Linked DNA regions of Homo sapiens: all the other regions are linked to region 3. Evidence: promoter capture Hi-C in 16 types of primary human blood cells and fetal thymus (Javierre and others, 2016). All regions are on one chromosome and are shown on one strand. The core of a region is centred on a gene start or on the middle of the fragment in contact, and the rest is flanking DNA. Distances in the headings are between cores, read along the strand shown. Region 1 overlaps PACRGL (parkin coregulated like). Region 2 overlaps BOD1L1 (biorientation of chromosomes in cell division 1 like 1). Region 3 holds the start of MED28 (mediator complex subunit 28).

Evidence for each region. The method cuts DNA at HindIII sites, captures the fragments that hold promoters and counts their contacts. A CHiCAGO score of 5 or more calls a contact.
Region 1: a contact is called between a fragment that was not itself captured here and the fragment with the promoter of MED28 in region 3, in 5 of 17 cell types (total B cells, total CD8 T cells, non-activated CD4 T cells and 2 more). The highest score is 14.7, in total B cells.
Region 2: a contact is called between a fragment that was not itself captured here and the fragment with the promoter of MED28 in region 3, in 1 of 17 cell types (non-activated CD4 T cells). The highest score is 5.9, in non-activated CD4 T cells.

The regions. Positions count from the first base shown.
Region 1 is chr4:20,701,938-20,704,637 of GRCh38, reverse strand. PACRGL (parkin coregulated like) reads right to left here. Exons shown (of 9, transcript NM_001258345.3): 2 at 105-172. The coding sequence starts at 156. Among named protein-coding and RNA genes, the nearest start is that of PACRGL, 2.8 kb to the right of the region's middle. The HindIII fragment of the contact is 483 bases long and covers 1,201-1,683 here.
Region 2 is chr4:13,616,433-13,619,132 of GRCh38, reverse strand. All of the region lies in intron 2 of BOD1L1 (biorientation of chromosomes in cell division 1 like 1), which reads left to right. Among named protein-coding and RNA genes, the nearest start is that of BOD1L1, 9.9 kb to the left of the region's middle. The HindIII fragment of the contact is 254 bases long and covers 1,233-1,486 here.
Region 3 is chr4:17,613,258-17,615,957 of GRCh38, reverse strand. It overlaps MED28 (mediator complex subunit 28), which reads right to left and starts at 1,317. Exons shown (of 4, transcript NM_025205.5): 1 at 1,145-1,317. The coding sequence starts at 1,303. MED28-DT (MED28 divergent transcript) reads left to right here and starts at 1,378. Exons shown (of 3, transcript NR_186331.1): 1 at 1,378-1,816; 2 at 1,920-2,026. RefSeq lists enhancers at 1,168-1,277, 1,378-1,667, 773-1,972. The HindIII fragment of the contact is 7,436 bases long and covers 1,227-2,700 here.

The DNA of each region.
Region 1 (2,700 bases), core at 193-2,692, 3.1 Mb before region 3:
TAGAAACCAGGTACAAGCAATAAAGTTCACCCTGCATCCATCTGTAGCACAGAAAGTGCCATGAACAAACTTGACCTCTTCACTTAAAAACAAAAGCTCTGTACCTGTTGCTCTGTTTTTCAACTGTGTACCTCCAGAGCCCTCTGATTTCTGCATTGCTTCCCTTTCACTCCTGCAGTTTAAAAAAAAAAAAGTTGATTTCAAAATTTGTTTGGAGGGGCATTTGTTATCAATAAAAAGACAAAACCAGAACAGAGTATACAATACAGTAAAAGACACACAAAAAAGTTGATATGGAGCAAAATACTGGAAAAGACTAATGAGAAAACATGAAATTATGTCAACTTCAATAGTATCAATAACAGCAAAATAATCATCTCCAAGAAATGATGTACAAAAGTCAACTTTTTTTCCATTCAAATTGTCAAAATAAACTGTTAGAAACTCACTTCCAATTCTCTGACCACATTAGAAAACACAGACTAGATTTCTGAAAGGAGTGGTTGGTACATTCCCTGTCATCTTCTCCATCTTCTCTGGCCTCTGTATTTCCAAAGCTCCAAATGTTAACATGTGCACATCAAGCTCTACTTTTCCAGTGACATAATGAACTCTCCTACCCAATGTATCACAAGCTCCTTAAACTGAATGTAACTAAAACTGAGGTTGTCACACTGAAGTTATTATGAACCCCTTGTTAACCCAGGGTACCACCAGTTTTCTGGTCCTCAGACTGAAAAACTTAGAATCACCATTGTCTCCTTTTCCTTCATTTCCTACACTCAATGCTACACGTGATGAGAAAGAAAGAGCTTTGGGCTCAAATATGGGTCTGCATCTCAGTTCTACCAATTATGAAATTTATGAATTTAGGCAGATTATTTAACCTCCCTAAACCTCGACTTCCTGACCTGTTTAAAGAGGGAAATAAAAGCCTGTCAAGGTTTTCTGGAGGTGCAAATGAAATTATCTCTCAAGTTACTCACCCAGGGAATACTGGTTCACTTTTCCCTTACACAGTTGCTTTTTTTCTGCTAATGGAGGACTCTAGTTCATACCCCAAGGTTTCCAGCTAATCCAATCAATTTCTACAATTGTATCTCTAGCAAGAAATACACACACACAAACACACACACACACACACACACACACACACACACTCATATACCCAAGTGCCTACTGGTATTTTTAGGCCAAGCTTCATTCCCAACTTCCATGAAGCCTTTCCTCATCTTGGTTTCTCAAATGTGTATTTCTATGGCATTGATTTCTATCCTGTGTCCTTATTTCTACTTGATTACTCTGTTCCCTCACTTCCACGACAATCTAGTTATTCTATTAGCACACGTCTCATTTTAATGCCTTTAATAATGACTGCCTCTCAAGTATAGTGTAAGATCTTCCCTTAGGACAACACAGGTAAAGTCCTCTTCCACCTCCAAATGACACTTTTTCAAATATTTGATGGCATTAACTCTTAACTCCTTCATTTTTTCTTCTTCAGGATAAACACTGATACTTTTTAAAATGATTCCTCACATGAAATGCTTTTAATCCACTTAACAAGTTAGAAATCCTCAAAAGGAGGACAAAGCTCCATGTTATAAAATTTAGCCAGATATCTCAAACATGATGTACCAGCTTAAAGTCTGATACCATGTAAAGATAACCTAAATGTAAGCTTGCTTCTGCACACTGAATAATTTCAATTTCCTTGATTTAGTACATTGATCTCATTTATCTCATCCCACTACCAGCAGATGACTTACTTCCCAGTATCACACTTCACCTCCATTCCCAGGGCCATTTTCTAATACTACGGTAATTAAAATCTCATTAAAGTTGTCAGATAATAGTCTAAAATAAGCTGAGAGAAGCTTTAAATATGTTAACCTACTATTGTACTTCTGTGATCATTCAACAAGTATTTAATATTGTGCCTGACTTCTGTTTTGAGAAGCTCCTGGAGGGGGAACAACACAAGTTTCTATTGAAAAAAAAAATGCATCAGTTTCCTCAACTCTATAATTGGGCATAATTACAGGAACTACTTTAAGTGTTGATGAAGACTAGTAAGAATATATGTAAAACAACATTTCCATAATGGGAGGCATGCAGTAAGGGCCACATGAGTCTTAGCTATTATTATAATTTTCTTTACAATGGTACAAAGTGTTCTTCAGTATTACTATTACTAATAGTGAAACCACATGTTTTGTCATTTTTAAAAAATCTGGCTTAACATCTTGGGCTACATCAATTTGAAGACCAGCTGAGGTCCAATTTCTCTTGATCATCAATTGTTAACAGCTGCAACAGATAAAAGCGATGCACAGCAAAGACGCGTACCCACAAACATAACAAGGGCACAGGCAGCCATATCAAATTATGATGCACATTTTTCAATACTACCTACCAATTCAGTGGAAGTTTTGGATGGAATTTTATGGCTAAATTTCTATCTTCCTTCACGTCAAAAAGTTGTTCCTGTAACAAACTAATGGGGAGGTGTTGCATTATATTTTGAATGAGTTCAAAAAGTCACCAAAACTCATTTGAAAAAGTTTTAAACATGGTAGAAAATCGAGCTTCTACAGTTTATGAGTATACAGGACAACTTTTATGTACAATATATAATTTTCAGCATTAAACATACAGTAATGCAAACACGTCTACATCCCCTTTCAAAATCCTGTATTA
Region 2 (2,700 bases), core at 110-2,609, 4.0 Mb after region 3:
CAGACTGGTCTCCAAATCCTAGGCTCAAGGGATCTTCCCTCCTTGGCTTCTGAAAGTGCTGGGATTATAGGCATGGGCCACCTCACCTGGCCACTACTTGTTCTTGAATGTAAATATTTGCAAAGACAAGAAAGCCTTCTACCCTTGCTATACCCCTCAAAAAAAGGGTGACTAAGTTATTTAGAGATCATCCAGTCTCCCTGACTTGACAAGTATTTATGTTCAAGTACATCTTTGAGAATGAAGTGTAGCTTTTTTTTTTTTTAACAGTTAAACAAATCTGTTTTATACCTGCCACCTCTTAATTTCCTTTTGTCCCATAGGAACCTCTCGAAAGCCTATCTAGTCTGATAGTTTCAACCAACAGGAAGCCCCACAAATCAAAATTCACACCCTGACTAAAAGACAAACCTATTTAGCCACAGGTAATACTAGAAACCAGAAGCCTGGGGGCTCAGACAGTGTCTCCTTGTGCATAAGAGAAGAGGGAAATTCACAATAGCTTTGTTGTCTACATTTTAAAGGATGTCTGAGGAACCTGTAAAAGAGTCCAGGTGAGATCAAAAGATGCCATTAGAAGGCTGCATAATAATACCTGGTGGGAAAAGGTCAAAGCTGTTTCTAGAAAAAGTAGAAACAAAAAAGATCTGTTGGGTGACAGGCCCGCTGCCTGTAGTTTCCACAAAGGCTTTCAAAGAGAACAATGACCAAAATAGCTTAGGACTAGGGGATAAGGGAGTGGAGGTAGGGTAGAGCACCCCTTCACACACATTTATACAGAGCCCTACTGATTACTTTCATTCAGTGATTTGCATAGCCACCTCCCTGTTCACAAATGATTGCATTGCTTTAAAAGCATGTTTTTTTGGGAGTCTGGCATTTTTTTTCTTCATATATTGACACTCAGATTGAAGGCAAACTTCTTAGAATTGCATTTACTTTTATAGCGTATAAAATCTATAAGGTAAGGGAGCAGTCATTCTTTTATTTAAGGGAACTAAGTCTTACACATGTGAAAATTAAGCACTTAAAATTATTGCTGTACCAGTAAGATATTGTGATCACAAAATCATGTTTGGTGCGAGGTCAGGGGTTCTTGTGGCTGTGTCAGTGATTAAATGCTGGAGCAATTTGCCTATGAGTAATGAGGAATCTCTTTTTCTGGAGACATTTTGAAAGAGGGAAGACAGCTGCCTTCTCTTGGATGATACTGATAATAACATTTTAAAGCTTCCTTAAAGAGATTATTTAGTTATGTTCAATCTGAAGGTATAGGGGTGGACTAGCCCCTGTAAATAAATATAATTTCAAACAGTTTTTTGTACGTATGCTTTGAGACATACTCACTTGACTCCATTAGGTTGAGCTATCTGCACTTGCCATTTTTGTAAGACAAAAATGGTCTAATACCAGTAATTTCAGATGGTTCAACTTAATAGCTGATCTGCTGACTCAGTAGGAGGGAAAATTTTATTCTACTTAAGCTTTTATTTGTACAACAGAATCTGAAAATCCTAGGTAACTGAATAACGAACTTAGCTAAACATAATTTGAAAGGAAGACAAGGAAGTAACTTTAACCAGAAAAACGCCAGCTGTTGGCATTTTGGCTTTGCCGTTGACCTAGGGCTGTAGCTTCTCCCCACTTGGGTGAGGCAGTTATGGCCGCTAAGTGCAGTATGATCATTGGTACTGGACTCCATTTTTCTGTAAGATTAGAGCTGACCTCTGTGTGAGAAAGGACTAAAGCAGAAGTGTTTTGTTTGTTTGCAAAACAAGAGGCTGGAACATAGGCAAACAGAGAAAGAGACTGAAGCAAAAATTTGGGAGTGGATAGTTTAATTTTTTTTTGGTACTTTTTTTTCTATTTTCTATTTTTTTTTTTTTTTTTGAGACGGAGTTCGCTCTGTCGCCAGGGTGGAGTGCAGTGGTGCCATCTCAGCTCACTGCAATCTCTGCCTCCTGGATTCCAGCAATTCTCCTGCCTCAGCCTCCCAAGTAGCTGGGATTACAGGCACGTGCCACCACACCCAGCTAATTTTTGTATTTTTAGGAGAGATGAGGTTTCACCATGTTGGCCAGGATGGTCTCGATCTCCTGACCTTGTGATCTGCCCGCCTTGGCCTCCCAGAGTGCTGGGATTACAGGCGTGAGCCACCATGCCCGGTCCTTTTTGTACCTTTTTACTTGTACCCTAAAACCTTTTTTAAGATTGCTTTTTCTTATTTCTTTTCTACCTACTACATTTTAAATACACCTCTAAGATGTAACAGTGTTTGCAAGATTTGCATTTTTTTTTAATCTTTAAAAAGCAGGTAACCTACTTTGTGCTGAGTTGGCTCATTTTTCTCTATGGCCCACATAAGTAGAATTATAGTTTCACAAGGCGACAAGGTGCTTCCAGAAATGAAAAACTAATCCATCCTGCACTCCAGATGGAAGTGCACTCAAAAATAGCATTTGTAAAGTGTAAGGAAAGATGGCTCCTCATCCATTCCATAGAGAGCAGTTGAGGCTTAGAAGCTAAAAATGACGAGCACTTTGATCTTCCAGCACTATCCTGACTACCTTGACTCCTCCACTTCTTTTTTAGGAAGAAACAAGATTTAAGTGTGTTTCTTAAAATAAATTCACGTTCTCTTATTTTACTCAGATGCCTTTGTGCAGAAGCACATTTCACAGATTGTTGTCCTCATCGCTC
Region 3 (2,700 bases), core at 68-2,567:
TTGTACATCCGTGTGGTAAAAGCATTTTGTCCATGCAGTCTGAATAATCGCTTGCAAATTATATTCATTTACCACTGTGCTATTAGATACAATACAAAAGTCACAAAGTTGGGATTTTTATTTATTTATATTTTATTTTACTTTTTTGAGACGGAGTCGAGCTCTTGTCACCCACGCTGGAGTGCAATGGCGCGGTCTCCGCTCACTGCAACCTCCGCATCCCAGGTTCAAGCGATTCTCCTGCCTCAGCCTCTCGAGTACCTGGGATTACAGGCGCACGCCACCACGCCTGGCTAATTTTTGTATTTTTAGTAGAGTCAGGGTTTCACCATGTTGGTCAGGCTGGTCTCGAACTCCTGACCTCATGATCCGCCAGCCTCGGCCTCCCAAAGTGCTGGGATTACAGGCGTGAGCCACCGCGCCCGGCAAAACTGGGATTTAAAATGTGGAAAAGTTAACTCCAATTTGAACGTACATTACTTTATTACTACACAGGAATAGCTCATCTTCCACTTTAAAGACTACTGGAAATCACCAGAGCACTTATTTTCACCTCTCTATCTTCCCTCAATATACAGTTCACCTTTCTTGCTACAAGGTAAACTCCTTGGGCAAAACTGAGAGATTGGGTCACCTGTGCCTCCCTCCCTCCCTAACCTCCAGCATTCCTCCTTCCTCAGCTCTTAGTACCAAGCTGCGCCTGGTAACTTAAGTCAATTTCCGCTCTTAAGAGTCCCTTTAGGATCGTTTAAAGGTGAAGCCCAGCGGAAAGGATACAGGATACAGCAGTGAAACTCTCAGCTCCGAAAAGGCTTGAGCCTCTTACTAAACATGCAGGGATGCAAGAAACGGTGCTCGGGGATGAGACTAAGGACCGGCTGGGAATCTGGAAGGGTTCCAAGTTTGGGGTTTAGGCAAACTTCGGGTTCACGTTTCCACAAACGTCGAGTTTACGCGCCCCCGCCAGCAGACCTGAATTGAATACGGGCCACGGGGAAGCCTAAAGCAAGTGACTTACTTTAAGCCTCAGTTTCCCCATTTGTGAATTAGTTGCTCGGATCCCTGGAGGAGATACGCGTACGCGCAGTTCACGTTTCAGAAAAAAGGGAAGGCTAGGGACAAAGACGCCCATGTCTTATATTACCTCGAAAGATGACTCCAACTCGTCCACCAAAGTACTGCTGGAAGGTCTAGGAGCGCCTGGAGCTGCCTGAAGAAGCGAAGCTTGGCCCGGAAGGCCCGGCGGGGCCTGAGGGGGACCGGGTGGCTGCCCAGAAAACATACCCCCTAGTGGAGCCGCCATGTTTGGAATGGCGCAAGAGAGATCCACTGCGCCTGCGCGGAAGCCGGCTCAGAAGCTCACGTGGCTGGTGTAGTAGGCGTGGTCACGTGACAGGACCGAGCGATGGGAGGATTCTGGTGCACCCCGGAAGGAGGATTTTTAATTCTTCTGTTTTCTTGTCTATCGCAAAACAGAGTTTACATGTATTTTCCTTTTTTCTTAGCTTAAGAATTGAAGACTTTGGCCGGATTAGACCTGGTTGTGTGGAGAGGAGAATTAATAACTACAGTGGAGCGAGCCCTCCTGCGAGAGTCAGGATACTACTATGCTAGTCCCGACTCTGCCCCAAATGCCTGGAGAGACTTTGGCTAAGTCACTTTTTCTTTCCGCGGGCTGTTTACCGTTGGTAAAAGGAGAGGGTCACCCACTCACTCCACAAACATTTGTTGAGTCATTGGTTATAGCGGGAACAAGACAGGCAAAGTTCTTCCTGAATTCTGGTCGGAGATGGATAACGGAAACAACTTTGTTGAGGTTCCCAATGTGCCCGGCACTGATGTCTTTAAATATTTATGGTTACATCAAAGAGAAAGTCACTATGCTAATCTTTTTTTTTCTTTCTTTTCTTTTTTCTCAGGGTCTCGTTCTGTCGCCCTGGCCGGAGTGCAGTGTCATGATCAGGGCTCGACCTCCCGGGCTCAAACAATCCCCCTACTTCAGCCACCCAAGTAGCTAGGACCACAGGTGCGTGCAGTCGCGACGGGCTTTTTTTTTTTTTTTTTTTTTTTTTTTTAGTTGAGTCAGGTGTTTTACTGAGCTCAAGTGATTCTACCGCCGCGGCCTCCCAAAGTGTTGGGAATACAGTAATGAGCCAAGGCGCCAGGCTGCTAATTTTTTTTTTTTGAGACAGAGTCTCGCTTTGTCGCCCAGGCTGGAGTGCAGTGGCGCGATCTTGGCTCACTGCAAGCTCCGCCTCCCGGGTTCACGCCATTCTCCTGCCTCAGCATCCCGAGTAGCTGGGACTACAGGCGCCCGCCACCACGCCCAGCTAATTTTTTGTATATTTGGTAGAGATGGGGTTTCACCGTGTTAGCCAGGATGGTCTCGATCTCCTAACCTCGTGATCCGCCCGACTCGGCCTCCCAAAGTGCTGAGATTACAGGCGTGAGCCACCGCGCCCGGCACTAGGCTGCTAATCTTGTAGTAACCTGCTTTTAACATTTGCTTATCTCTCTCTTTTTTTTTGGTGACGGAGTCTCGCTCTGTCGCCCAGGCTGGAATGCAGTGGCGCGATCTCGGCTCACTGAAACCTCCGCCTCCTGGGTTCAAGCAATTCTCCTGCCTCAGCCTTCCGAGTAGCTGGGACTACAGGCGCCCGCCGCTCGGCTAGTTTTTCTGTATTTTAGTAGCGCCGGGGT